2 separate regions of the Homo sapiens genome follow, and region 1 is linked to region 2. The links are contacts of gene promoters, found by promoter capture Hi-C in blood cells and fetal thymus (Javierre and others, 2016). All regions are on one chromosome and are shown on one strand. The core of a region is centred on a gene start or on the middle of the fragment in contact, and the rest is flanking DNA. Distances in the headings are between cores, read along the strand shown.

Region 1 (7,397 bases), core at 3,467-5,966, 520 kb before region 2:
GAAAGATCATCTTTGGCCCCTAATGGGTCTTCACTGCTCCAGAATAAAATACCAAAGGGGTCTGTATGCCATGCTCATCCTGGTCCTCATTCGCCTCTGCTACTCCCCCCAGCAGTCTCGCTCCAGGCCCACCAACCTCCTGTGAGTGCAGCTCCACCAAGGGGCCTCCAGGCCTTAGCATACGCTACTCTAACTGCCTGGCACAACCTGCCCTTCCCGTTATTCTCTGCCCTGCTTAGTACATTCGTCAATGAATGAATGATTAATCAGAGGTGCTTCAGGAAAGGAATGAAGGATGAGGAGAGTTTTGATAGAAACAGAAGAACAGGGGACACACATACAGGTTAAAATCAGATTAAAGAATTTGTCTAAGGAAACAAATTATACTTTATCTTTTTTTCTCATCAGGCATTGCTCTGGGCTGTGTTCTATTTGTGGATTAGGTGGGATTTCTATCTCTGCTCTCCTCCATTCTCTTTCAGTAAAACCAACCTACGCCCAAGTTCCTGGCACACTCTAAGCAACTAGAGTTCCCAAAGCCCAAAACACAGCTGCCACCACTACCAGATAAAAAGTGCTCCACAGGAACTCTGCTGAAATCCTGGTCAGGGTTATACCAGCTTTGCTTAGCCGAGGCAGCACATTTTTCAAATTCAAGGAATGGTTTGACTATGACAAGGAGTTCTCCCCTCCTTATTAAACTCAAGCATCCACTAATAAAATGTAGTATGAGTCTACAGAAGAAAAAAAAATTTTAAAACAATACATCACATTAACCTAGGACACACATCAAGGACAAACCAACACTGGACTGACTTCAAGCAACACAAGAAAATTGTTGCCTAAATATTTGCTATAGTCAGATTCACACCTTACATAGGAAGGCTGCTGTGCTGTGTGCTGGTAAACAGAAGGGCAACTCCTACCGCCTACCGGCACCCAAGGTGGGCTGGTCTAGTCTGCAGGAAACCTCAAAGGTAAATAAATAAGCCCAGAGTCAGGACAGAACTTTGCATGGAAGCTGTGCTTAGAAGAAAGAGATGATGGAAGGGCAAGTTGTACTCGTACTCAACATATAAATAGCAATTAGTTACTCGGTTATTTGCACCAAACACAGACAAACAAGATAGCAAAGCCACTGGGTCACATCATTTCAAAATACAGACAATGACTATCCACTGGTATTCCTTTCTTATTACTGAGGTCCAAGCTACCACTATCACCTCCTATCCGAACCAAAACCACCTCCTAAGTGGTCCCTCTGCTTCCATCCGAAATATACATCAGCTGACATCACTCCTCTTTTCCACATCTTTAACGGCTTCTGACTACACTTAAAAGCAAATCCAAACCCCATTCTAAGCCTATGGAGCCATAAACAGCCTGGCCCACCTTACCCCTCCCCACTCAAAGCTCAGTGCTGTGCACCCAGCTGGATATATTCCAGCCATACCTCCCTTCTCCCTGAGGCCTGCCTGGAGCATGTTTCCTGCCCTCTCACCAGTCAGATGGAATGCCACCCCTGCACCACCCCAGCCCGGAGCCACTTACTTCTCTTCCTCGCACTGATCACCATCTGAAATAATCTTGTTCACCTATTTGCTTGCTGCTTTGCTATCTCTCCCATCTAGAATTCCATGAAAACAGGGGTCTGCTTGTCGGTTGCTAAATCCCCAGCTCCTCAAATAGTACCTATTATAGGTAGGTTATCCATAAATATCTGCACTGAACACATTTGTTAAATGACCTGTTGAATGAATGGTGGCTAGATAAACCAATGTTTTAAAAGTAATGCCCAAATACGGAAAACCTGGTTTTACATAAAATATTAATTAGCAATCAGTTACTTGCTTTACAAAAGGATTCTGTGGGCTGGATGCAATGGCTCACACCTGTAATCCCAACACTTTGGGAGGCGGAGGTGGGCAGATCACTTGAGGTCAGGAGTTCAAGACCGGCCTGGCCAACCTGGTGAAACCCTGTCTCTACTAAAAATACAAAAATTAGCTGGGCATGGTGGTGTATGCCTGTAGTCCCAGCTACTAGGGAGGCTGAGGTGGGAGGAGCACTTGAACCCAGGAGGCAGAGGTTGCAGTGAGCCGAGATCGTGCCACTGCACACCAGCCTGGGCGACAGAGTGAGACTCAGGGTCAAAAAAAAAAAAGATTCCTTTTTTAATGCATCTTTAAATATTTAATTTACAAATCTCCAGGGTGCACACTTTTTAAAGGATAATCTATTGTGCAGAGTGAATTAACTCCTCCAGGACATAAACACTGCTTATATACAAAAAGTACCTAATAAAACACTTGTTGAATGAGCACTGGAAAATACACAGTTAAATGCCTTAATTAATACATTAAATACACAGTTAAGTACTTTATTCATAAGGTAAATACTTAATACACACCATAAACTATATGAAACTATACTTGGATTTGAAACACAGCAAACTTGGCTATATTTAGTTCTCATTTTCCATTTTTTCTCATAAACTGACATATGTATATTTAAAATCTACCAACTTGAGATACCAGCAATAATCTTAGCTACAAACTTTATAAGCAGGTGCAAATCCAAATAAATTCTGGAAGTTACTTGGCAGTTCTGCTGCAGTCAGTTTTGACTAACAGATACATGGAGGCATAGAAACAGTAGATATACTCAAAACTGACAGGTTGTTGGGGACATCTGTGAGTTTACTATGAAAATCACAAAGCTTGAGAAGTTCAGTTTTATTTATAAACTGCGTAAAAAGTCAAGTGTCCCCACTGAAAGACTAATCAAGAAATCACACTGCTATAAAGCCCAGCCACATTCTTGATGCAATGTACACCTGCCCTAATGTTCCAGATCATGTCCAATTTTTTTTAAAAGTACATCTTATGTTTTTCTTTCTTCTTTAAACAGATAATCTCTTTAAAACAAAACTCTCCCGTTTTGGCTTTATTCCTACATCATGAAATTGCCCACTCTACACATTCAATATTCACACAATACTAATGCATCGTGCAAGAAAAACACATTCATGCTTGGCCGGGGGCGGTGGCTCACACCTGTAATCCCAGCACTTTGGGAGGCCGAGGCAGGTGGATCACCTGAGGTCGGGACTTCAAGACCAGCCTGACCAACATGGAGAAACCCTGTCTCTATTTAAAAATACAAAATTAGCGGGGGTGGTGGCGCAAGCCTGTAATCCCAGCTACTCGGGAGGCTGAGGCAGGAGAATCACTTGAACCCAGGAGCCAGAGGTTGCAGTGAGCCAAGATTGTGCCATTGCACTCCAGCCTGGACAACAAGAGCGAAGCTCTGTCTCAAAACAAAAAAAAAGAAAAACACATTCGTGCTCAGGTATCCATGTGAATCAACCGACACCCACCCCTTCTCCTTCCCCACCAGGTGTTCAGCTGCAGTTGCAAAGGTCAAAATGAAAAAGGAAAAGGAAAGTCAGCTGCGTAACTGGATGTGCAGGTGTTTGTGTGAGGCCTGTGCTCATGTGCAGCTGTGTGTTTCTGAAGGGGCATTCTGAAGTCAAATATAACAACTTCAAGATTATTCACATTGTGTACATTATCTATGCCTTTTGTCTTTGTCTTTAGGATATTACCTAGTTTGTAATGTAAAGTGTGTTAATGACTTGCCTCTTCACCGTAAACCACATCAGTTCCATAGAACATCATTCTTACAATCTATAACTCCAAGAAATAAACTTCCAAAGACTAATTTCGTATTCTAAAATCTTTCACAGGATAACACGTTATCTATAAAAATCATTCAATTTCGGGATATAATTTGTAATGCATGCACCACCTACAGGAAATGAAATATAAAATAACCACATTTTAAAAATGTATGCTAAGAGGTATACATGAATTTGCTCCAAAAACATTTAATAGTTTTTCCGCTGTTGTCCTGTAATCGAAATAATAATTTTGAGGGCGGGTGTGGTGGCTCACATCTGTAACCCCAGCACTTTGGGAGGCCAAGGTGGGGGCATTACTTCAGCCCAGGAGTTCGAGACCTGCCGGGCCAATATGACAAAACCCCATCTCTACTGAAAATACAAAAATTAGCTGGGAGTGGTGGCGCACAGCTGTAATCCCAGCTACTGGGGAGGCTGAGACACAAGAATCGCTTGAACCTGGTAGGTGGGGGTTGCAGTGAACTGAGATCGCACCACTGCACTCCAGCCTAGGTGACAAGAGTAAGACTCTGTCTCAAAAATAATAATTTTGAAATAACAAGATTCAGAATCCAAATTAAGCTACCAGCCTACATTTCCTCTATATAAACTTTTCCAACGTACTGACACTCGGAGAAGGCTAACAATCGTCCTAAAAGTCTGTGATGGTTTTTGAAATGACTTTTTAATGACTCAAAACGTTTTTGAAAGTCATCTCATTTTACCACCAGCTATGTTTCAGGAAGTGATTCTAATGGAATGTTATTTACCTAGTAAGAAAATCTACCTAAAAACTTTTGCCCATCTAAAAACTAGTGTTATCTAGTTTCTGTGTCTCCAATTTTGTATCACTTAAATCACAGGCAAAGCCATACCTGCTCACAAACAGGTATTCATAAAAATGTAATTAAATAAGACTATAAAAGCATTGCATGATAACTCAAGACATAACCACCACCTAATTAAATTATTAATTGGTAAAGCCTCACAGTATGGCTAACGAGTTGTGAGCTTATTACTCAACCAGCCATACACAGGAAACAAGCCCTGGGAAGGCGCCGGCCAAGGGACTGAGTGCATGGGGTGACAGCAAGATGCCCTAACGACCAGCGAGCCTTTCAAGGTGGCGAGGGTCGCATCCTTTAAAACACATTCAGACACCTGGCACTGCAGGAGTGGATAAAAAGAATGCTATTGATGCTATTACTGTGTTCTCGAACTGGTGGGAACTCGGGAAATCTACACTTATGCCTTCCTGTTAGCAACAGTGCAACTGGCCTGGATTTGCACCACCCAGTTATCTCGAAGGCGCTGATGTTCTGAAAATAAAACTTTGTGGGAATGGAAAGTTAAAAACTTCTATTTAAAACTCAGACCTCAGAACATGCCCTTTGAAACCAGAGGGTTAAAAACGAAAGACAGACGCCCCTTGTGGGCACCAGCCTCTGGGCATCCTCGGCGCCCTGTCCAGGCGGCCCAGCGCAAGCCGACTTCTGCGAGGGAGACACACGAGGGCGACACCCGCGAGGGAGACACGCGGGGTCGACTTCCGCGAGGTCCCGCGCCGGGGAGGCACCGAGCGGCAGCTCCGCGGCGCGGGGAGCGACAGGGGCCGGAGGAGCCGCCTGCTGGGTTCGGGCTCCCGCAGGGGTCCCCGAGTACAGCCTCAGTCTCCCCAACTGTGAAATGGGCGCCGCTACCTCGCCCGTCCTCCCCACAGGGATCTGGGAGACTAATGAATGAGAAACGCGCGGCTAACGACCTGGTCGCGCCCGCCGCTCGCCCCCCGCCGCGCCTGGCCTCCAGCGGCCCGGCCCAGCCCCGGCCCGAAGGTTACAAATGTTCCAGCCCCGCGCCTGCCGCTCCGCTCCGGTAACGGGCGCCCGCCCGACGCCGCCTACCTTGGCCACCCAGCTGAACAATGGTGACATCGCGGGCCGGGCGGCGGCTCTTCGCCCGCCGGCTCCCGCTCACTCCCGCCGCCGGCCCGTGGGCCCGCGGGCGGCCGGGGGCGGGCTTGGGGAGCGGCGGGGCCGGGGCATCGCTCTCCCCGGCGGCGGCGGCGGCGGCGGCGGGCTCCACCCAGTTCGTCACTGCCCCGAGAGGTCGCGCCCGCGGGGCGGCCAGGCAGAGAAAGGGAAGTGGGAGGGGAGAGCGCGGGGAGGGGGTGGGCGGGGGGAGGAGGGGAGAGGAGGGGAGGGCGCGCAGCCGACCCCGCCCACCCCCGCGCTCCGCTGCTGGCGGGAAGTTGGGACATGCTGGGGTCGCCCCCTTCCGAGATGCCCAGGGCTGCGCAGGAAACCCTGGAGGCTGGGGACGCGCCTTTCCAGGCCTCTGGGGTCCGTTTCGCACAACTTTCAGAAATCTAAGAATTCCTCCCTCTCCGAGGTTCCACAAAAGCCCCAGAGTTGGAGCTAACACAAAGCCCGCCCAACTTTCCAGGGGTGACCCCCACCCCCAGGGCTTTTCTTCCTAAGCGCTTTAGATTGCTAGTAACAAAAGACCAGTGTTCCCCAGCCCCTAATACCTTTATATAATCAAAGGTGGTTTTCTTGGAGTCAGGAAACTCGGCCATTGAGACCAAAAGTGGGGCAGAGGAAAAAGAACCATTTAGCTCCTGCCTGCCAGGAGGCTTTAGCAACTTGAGAAATGTTGATTTCACCATAGTTTTCTTCTCTCCCAAGGCAAGATGATGAGACAAGGTGGTCAGTTTATGGCTACAAAGGTAAAGCTGAGTTTCAATCCCAGCCACTCCTGAGTTCCACGTTGAAAAAAAAAAAAGTCCAAAGGTTTAATCGCTGATGTGTTATGCATGTGTCAGGTGGAACCACTCACTGAGTTCCTCAGGCCAAATGGCCAACCCAGCCCAAGAATTCTGCTTCTCTTTTCCTTCTACTAATTGTGCATTATCTTCTTGAAGGACCATTGGGACATTTTAATGTTGTTCCCTAAATATCTGGCATCTGAGTTTAGTGAGGGTATTAGCTACCTATTGCTGTATAAAAAGTTACCCCAAAACTGAGAAGCTTAAAACCACAAACAACTTCTGTGGGTCAGAAATCCAGGAGCATCTTAGCTGGATGGCTCTGGCTGAAAGTCGCCCTAAAATTTCAGCCAAGCTGTTAACTGAGGCTGGAGTCATCTCAAGACTGGCCTGGGACTGAAGGATCCACTTCCATGCTCATTCACATAGGTGTTGCCCGTATTTAGTTCCTCGCAAGCTGCTGGACTCAGGGCCTCTGTTTCTTGCTGTTTCTTTCCATAGCACTGATCAGAAAATGGCAGTTTGTATCCCCCAGCACAAGTGATCCAAGAGAATGCACAAATCCAAAAACAGTGTTTTATGAATTAAGATGTGACATCCCAACACTTTTGCTCTATTACTGTTTGTGAAAAACCAAAGACATAAGTCTAGTCCACACTTAAGGGGAGGAGATAATATAAGGACATGAATATCAAAAGGAGAGGATCATGGGGGATTGTGGGCGGCAAGCCACCCAGCTGCCAAGGCAAGAGACCCAGGGCACGAGCTGTTCCAGTATAATAAAATATATAAAATAAGAATAGTTATACTAGATATAGATCTTAGATATGATTATATATGAATATCATTAATCATTAGTTTGTAGCAATTATTCTTTATTCCAATATTATAATAATCCTCGCTCTACAATCATAACCTAGGAAAAACCAGGCCATACAGAGATAGGAGCTG
Region 2 (6,656 bases), core at 692-3,191:
CGTGAATGGGCTTCCGGGCACCAAGAGCGGGCTGTTCTAGGAGGAAAGGGGCCGGCCCTACCTGTGCTCTGCCCTTGGGCTGCAAATGGATTCTGGCCGGAGCTTAGCCAGGTTGTATTTCCGGCTCAGAGAGGGTCTGGGTGGGACGTCAAGGGAATCATTCCATGTTTAGGATAATGGAACGTGTTGAGTTGGTATGCAAGGTTTTGTCTTCAATCCCAGATATCCAAAAAGCTCTTTGAAACACAGGAAAGATTGGCCCTATTTCTCTTTAGGTATCATTATTTATCTAAATCTCCGGAGCCATTGAGGACCAAGATCATACTTGCTGAATAAATGCACGGAGCAGGATCAGAGGATAGACACAGAATGGGCCAAGAAGAGAAGTAAGCCACACCTTCCCTTCCTGTCTCAGCATCTGTTCCATTTCTGCTCAGTGACCCAGGCAGCTTGCTGTTAGCTGACTCTTCACACTTTAGGGAAATACAAATAACTCCAGAACTTAACTTTACCTTTGAGCTTCAAATTGTTTCAATTATGTACCTTGTTTCAATTATCTGCCTCCTGACAGTGTTTCACAGCTGGGACCAGTAAGGTGGTCTATGATCTTTAACATCTGTCTTATCCTTCCTAAAATAGTATCAACTGAAGGATTAAATGGGGAAGGGGGAGGGGTAGGCAACAAATATAGACTCTATTATGTTTAAAAGCAGTAACCGCTTTCCATTTCTTTCTCATTCAACTCTCAAATGCTTCTCTTCTTTTCTCCAGATATTATTCCTCATAAGAGCTTGCTTGATTGCAACCACCAAGGACATCCACAAACCAGGGCAAGAAGGACCATCCGTAATTCTTTCCCATAAATAGTGACAGGAAGAAAATAAACGCCCTATTCTTCAATGATTTGAACCACCTCTGGAGCACAAACTTTCTCTAAATTCACAGGGCAAATATCCATCATGGGGCAGGTATCTATGCTGCCATGGAAAGTAACATAAAATGTACTAAGTCATCACAGGGAGTTTTAATTTTGTTTTTAAGGTCAATTGCCATGCTGGGGTAAAAAGCATTGATCCTTGCCTTTTATCACCGGAAAAATTCTTCACCAGTACTTTGTGAAAATCTCGCCTCATCAGGGCTGCCAAGGTCAATGCAACCTAAGTAACCAAGCTGGGAGATGCTTGCCTAATTATTAAATATTTAGCAAACAGTTTGTGACTATTTAACTGTTTGCACCTGGCACCCTCTTTTCACTACGTGAGGCCTCCTGGCACCCTGACCTCTTCCCCCACCCCTACCCACTGCCCAGGCCGCCAGCACCCCTGGGGGGCAAATACCGGGACCCAAGGGCATTTCAAAGAAACAGCAGAGGTCACATTCCATTTCCTTTTTATTAAAAAACATACTTAAAATGGGGGAGGAGGGCACAGATCTAAGGTAAAATCTCTTGCAGTTTTTTCAAGTTCGCATGCACCGTTGAAAGTTCATTAGTTAGGGATTTAAAAGCAAAAATGTTTCACACAACCAATTAAACGCCAAGCTTTACAAACGCCTTGGTCTTTGGTTTTGGGAATCTGTAAAAGTCCGCCTCCCCCCACCCGAGTTTTGCCCCTTTTAGAGCCCCTTTGTTGAATTACGTGACTTTTCCCGAAGTCATCAAACTTTGAATTGCGTCTCTAATTTTTTTTTTCAGGGCAAAAGCAAATCAAGAAATTAAACTTAAAAGTAGGCGACTCGGAGAGAAGTGGGGGAAAGCTCGCCCCAAAGCCAAGTTCCGCAGGACTAAAGCCCTCTTTGCGCGCGCGGGGCGGGGGATTGTCCCTACCTGGGGCCAGACGGCGGCGGCGGCGGCGGCGGCGGGGTCCCGGCGCCCATGGCTTCGCCGGCCTCGGGCAGCCGCGCCGGGAGACGCTAGCGGCTCCGCGCTGCCCTGAGCCCGCCGAGCTCGCAGCGGCCGCCCCAGCGCTGTCATTGGGCCCGCGCGTCACGTGGCCCGGGCTGCGGGTGAGCCTTCCCGACACGCGTAACCCTTTACCTGCACGCCCCGAGGATGCGGCGGGGCTAGGGCTCGAAACCCTGGAGTACGATGTCCGACATCCCCGGGGCCGGGGTGGCAGTCCCGGGCGCACTGAAGCAGAAAATCCACGCGCTTGTTGGCCTCTGAGCACAAACGACCGCGCCAACCGCCTGCCATCACGGGAAACTCCGGGGTGCTTACTCCAATGTTGCGCTGGAGAGAAGGGAGCTTCCTATGATCAAGGGACTGGAGTACGGGGATACACAAAACAAATGCACCCGCTGGCAAATAGTTGTGTACTCCCAAACCCCGAGAACTTGGCATTTTTCAGTTTCCTCCTTATTTCTGGCATTCGCCGCCTAGACCTGCTGTGAGTTCCATGGCCAGCCCTGTATGAGCTACATGGACCTAGAAACAGCGGGGGCGCCACCACCACGATAAAAACCAGGGAAGTTGCACACACTCGCCTGCACCCTAAAGGCCCCAGGGGGAGTTCAATGAACTCCTGGTTCCCCGTCCCCTCCTCACCCACTCCCCCTCCATCCCTTTCTTTTCCTGAGGTCTTAGGGCATTGGCCACAAGACTGCATCCAATCTACTGAGTTCCACATTCGTAGCTGTTACAATCCATATACCTAAGGCGGGTGGAGAACTGACTCTGCTTAAGGACTGGACATTCTTTTCACCTGTGCTCCAAAGCAAATGCTGAGCTTGCCAAAAAAAGTGTTAAGCAACTGCGCCACCTAGCTTACCCTCTTCTCTCTTCTTTTCAACTCATCCAGCAAGAGAATAAAATAGGATATTGGAGAGGCATCTGGACAGAGTATTATCTAAGGATGGACATAGTGTCCTTGGGTTTTCAATGTATCTACTTTAATGATGCCAGCCCCATTCACATGATATTTGCCAGGCTTTTGAGAATTTGAACACTCCATTTTTTGAATCCTTCTAATTTTGCAGTGCTGGGATTGCACGCTGTAAAGTGTTAGATTTTTGCAGGAAGTTATATGTGGTTTTACATCCTTTGTCACAATGAACGGCACTCATGTCCAACTTATAGTCGACACTTAATTGTCTACAGGATATTGATACATTTATCAAGTAGGTTATCTGTCGAAAAAGGGGTTGGTATTTGTATTGGGTTTCATTTTATTTATTTATTTATTATTATTTGAGACAGGGTCTGGCTGTTGCACACAGGCTGGAGTGTGATGCGATCTCAGCTTACTGCAACCTCCTCCTCTGGGGATCAAGGGATCCTCCCACCTCAGCCTCTGGAGTGCCTGGGGCTACAGGCTCATGCTACCATGCTCGGCTAATTTTTGTATTATTATTATTATTATTACTATTATTATTATTATTTTTGTGGAGACTAGGGTGGGGGTGGGCTCTCCTAAACTTGCCCAGGCTGGTCTTGAACTCCTGAGGTTAAGCAATCCGCTCGCCTCGGCCTCCCAAAGTGCTGGGATTGCAAGCTGAGCCACCGCGCGCCCCAGCCTGCCTTAGATTTTAAAGTGCAGTTCCTAGACTAATAGCATCGGCATAATCTGAGAGAATGTAGTAAAAATGCAAATTCTTGGGACCCACCCCAGACGTATTGATTCAGAAATAGTTGGGGAGGGAGGGTGAAGAAATCTGTGTTTTAGCAAGTGGTACCTACTCCAGTTTGCGAACCGTTGCTCTGAATATGCACAGGTAGCTGGCGAAGTTCCCCTCATCTATTAAATAGTAAGGGCTGGCATTCTATAAAGCTAGAGGTGCTGCTTTTATTTGTATCCCTAGATTACCAGTTTTATGTAATCTGTCATGTTGATACACTGAAACTGAACCCTCCATGTGTCCATACAACGTGTAATCTGTACTTCTTGCAGATCTCTTGGAATGCCAAATTGAGATCTGAGGGGCCCTTGTAAAACATATGGAAGAAAAACCTATGGTTTCTTGATGCACACCAGGGTGAAAACACCATGATTCACTTCATTTTTTAGGTGTGCCCATGTTTTCACTGACATGTAAATTGTTCCCAGCCAATGAGTCATGAAAGATAGGAAAGCTAATTTTTTTGAGTGGATTTATCAACATGGTTCCAAATTTGTGAAAGAGTTCTAAAAAACAAACAACATTAAAAACATTATGGTATCCGTTTATGTTATAGCCCAAAAAACTCCCCACACCATATTAGGCATTGCAGTAAGGGCTCCTTGCAATCCATTGCAATCTCCTTACTGAGAAAGAAAGAACTGAGTGGGTTTTTATTTGAGTTTTCTCCATGGGATAGATAGACTATTTCTAATGGGCTAGATGGATGTCTTACTTTTAAACTCTCTAGGTCCAAGTTTGTTTTGTGATTTTCCCCCACTTTCATCCCCTGTTCACTTTACATTTGTAATTCTATCTACTCAATTCCAATTGGAACTGGAATTATTTGAGTTTTCCCTCCCCTTCATCAAACACCTCTATCCATTAAGCCCTGAAATAAATCTTGAATTGCCCCTACTCTAAGCAGGTTCTAAGATCAGGTTCTAACACTTTCTAACTGAGATCATGGCCATGGTCTTTACTGGTCTCCCAGCTTCTGATCTTTTCCATCTGAAAGCCATCTGACAAAGTAACTGCCCTTCCCCAAAACTTTTTTTCCCAGCTCCCTGTTGAAACCAGCGCAATTTTCCAACAAGCCAAATGCCCATAGCACTGAAGCTTGAGAAACTTACACCTGCTGCCTGTTGACCAATTCCTCTTCCTTAACCCTCCCTAATTCCTGTTTTCCTATAGGAGGTTACAGTGAGATGCTAGACACCTGCTGCCTATTGAGCAACTCCTCTTCCTTGCCCTGCCTGTTTTCTCCCCCCATATAAACCCCAACTTTAGCCAGGGGAGATTCAGATTTGAGTCTTGTCTCCTGTCTCTGGCTGATATCACCCATAATAAAGCCTTCTTCCCTGACAATACTCATTGCCTTAGTGATTGGCTTTCTGTGTAGTGAGCAACAGGACCTAGGCTGGGCCCCTGGCTTTCAGTGACACTATTGACTACTGAATAAAGTCTAAAATCCCAACAGCATTTGAAGTCGCCTGAAATATGCTTCAATGCCCATTTTTGCTCATGCAGCTTCCTTTACCTGAAATGTCTCTCTGACATTGACAGCTAAGTCCTAATTATTCTTCTAGCCTCAGCTCTATCTCCTCTGGGTCAACCTTTTCGATATTCAGGTAGTGTTAATTGCTCCTCTGTAGTGTATCCTCAGCACCTGGCTCTCACTCTTACTAACTTTGAAATCAGTCTCATCTGGTTTAGCTGTGTCTCTTCTAGACTGTAGGGTTCTGGATGGCAGGAGTCATGCGTGACTTTTCAAATCATTCCAGGATCTAGCATAATGCCTTGGGCATAGCAAGCATACAGTGTTGACTGTTGTGTTCTTGGCTCTAGGAAAGAAGATATTTAAACAAACTCTATTTATTTGAAATGCTTTTTTGCAAATATTTATTAACTTCTCTACATTTTCTTTGAGAACTAAAAGGAGAGGGGTTTAGCCTTTTCAACCTAAAGATATTACCCTTTGTAAGTAATGGAATTGTTTTCAGTGGTGGTAAATTTTGAACACGTTAGTCTCAGCCATGTGATGCAGGCAATAAACCAGAATAATTTATTTTCGTAACACATTAAAGTTTCTCTGAGAACAATTATTTCATGACAACTAGATACTAGCTTTCAGATTATTTCCTATGTATCATCACTTAAGCTCACCAATACTCCTCTGTTTCTGTTTTTTAAAAATATTTTTTGGTGCGTGTGTGGATTCTCAGATCCAAGAGGCAAGAGATGGAAGAAAGGGCATGTGGGAAGGCTCCCCTTGGTCCTGCTCGTTCGCGCAAAGGGAATTTATGAGAGAGACAACTCCTCAGTCATCACCCTTCTTCTCCTTCCTCCCCATCCTTCTATTAATGAATTCATCAACTATTTCTGTATACCTGAAAAACGTGAGAGTTTGCAGCAAATTTCAGTGATCTTCAGAGCTAGCCCAGTCTCCCACCTGCAAGTTAGAAAACACCTTGCAGGTCATTATTGATCTCTAAGTGCCTACTAGATACTAAATGCTCTGTTTTGATGTACTTTGAGAAAGTTAAGGAAAAAGACACTGAGAGTGCACTGAAATCTTGTTCAGCTATTCTCCCTGGACCCGTTTCTAGGTTTCTTTACCTATACATTTGGAATGCTAACAGTACCTACTTCACAGGGCTGTTGTGAAGTTTAAATGGCTTAGTACATGCAAAGCTCCAAGTACAGTGCCTGGTGCAACATAAGCAGTAAGCATGAACAGTTATTATTATTACTGAAGGTCTCTAATCACATCTGCCAAAAATGGGGGAGAAAAACAGCACGCCAATCTAAGTAGTTTATCTTTTATTCATACAAATAATACATACACAAGACTGTATATTGTTTGAAGACTGAAATAATTTTCTAGTGTAACAACTCTGTAACAAAATTTAACTAAATGTAACATTTATGAAAATATAAATCTCTGATTGGGTAATTCTTCCCAACGATACAAAGTTTACATAAAAACATTCAATATGAGCTATCAGTTGCAAACAAGTTAGGAAAAATCATTCAAGTCACTTGTATACTCTATTGGCTTT

The links. The method cuts DNA at HindIII sites, captures the fragments that hold promoters and counts their contacts. A CHiCAGO score of 5 or more calls a contact.
Region 1: a fragment that was not itself captured here is called in contact with the fragment with the promoter of PGCKA1 in region 2 in 1 of 17 cell types (naive CD4 T cells); the score reaches 5.6 in naive CD4 T cells.

What each region holds. Positions count from the first base shown.
Region 1 is chr4:37,975,716-37,983,112 of GRCh38, reverse strand. All of the region lies in intron 2 of TBC1D1 (TBC1 domain family member 1), which reads right to left. Among named protein-coding and RNA genes, the nearest start is that of PTTG2, 19 kb to the right of the region's middle. RefSeq lists an enhancer at 832-931 and silencers at 5,175-5,474, 5,495-5,544, 5,665-5,784, 5,855-5,924. The HindIII fragment of the contact is 3,989 bases long and covers 2,722-6,710 here.
Region 2 is chr4:37,449,210-37,455,865 of GRCh38, reverse strand. It overlaps PGCKA1 (PDCD10 and GCKIII kinases associated 1), which reads right to left and starts at 1,941. Exons shown (of 4, transcript NM_001104629.2): 1 at 1,826-1,941. It overlaps LOC124900691 (a long non-coding RNA gene), which reads left to right. Exons shown (of 3, transcript XR_007058098.1): 2 at 276-386; 3 at 772-1,549. It overlaps NWD2 (NACHT and WD repeat domain containing 2), which reads right to left. Exons shown (of 7, transcript NM_001144990.2): 7 at 6,403-6,656. The HindIII fragment of the contact is 3,173 bases long and covers 1,543-4,715 here.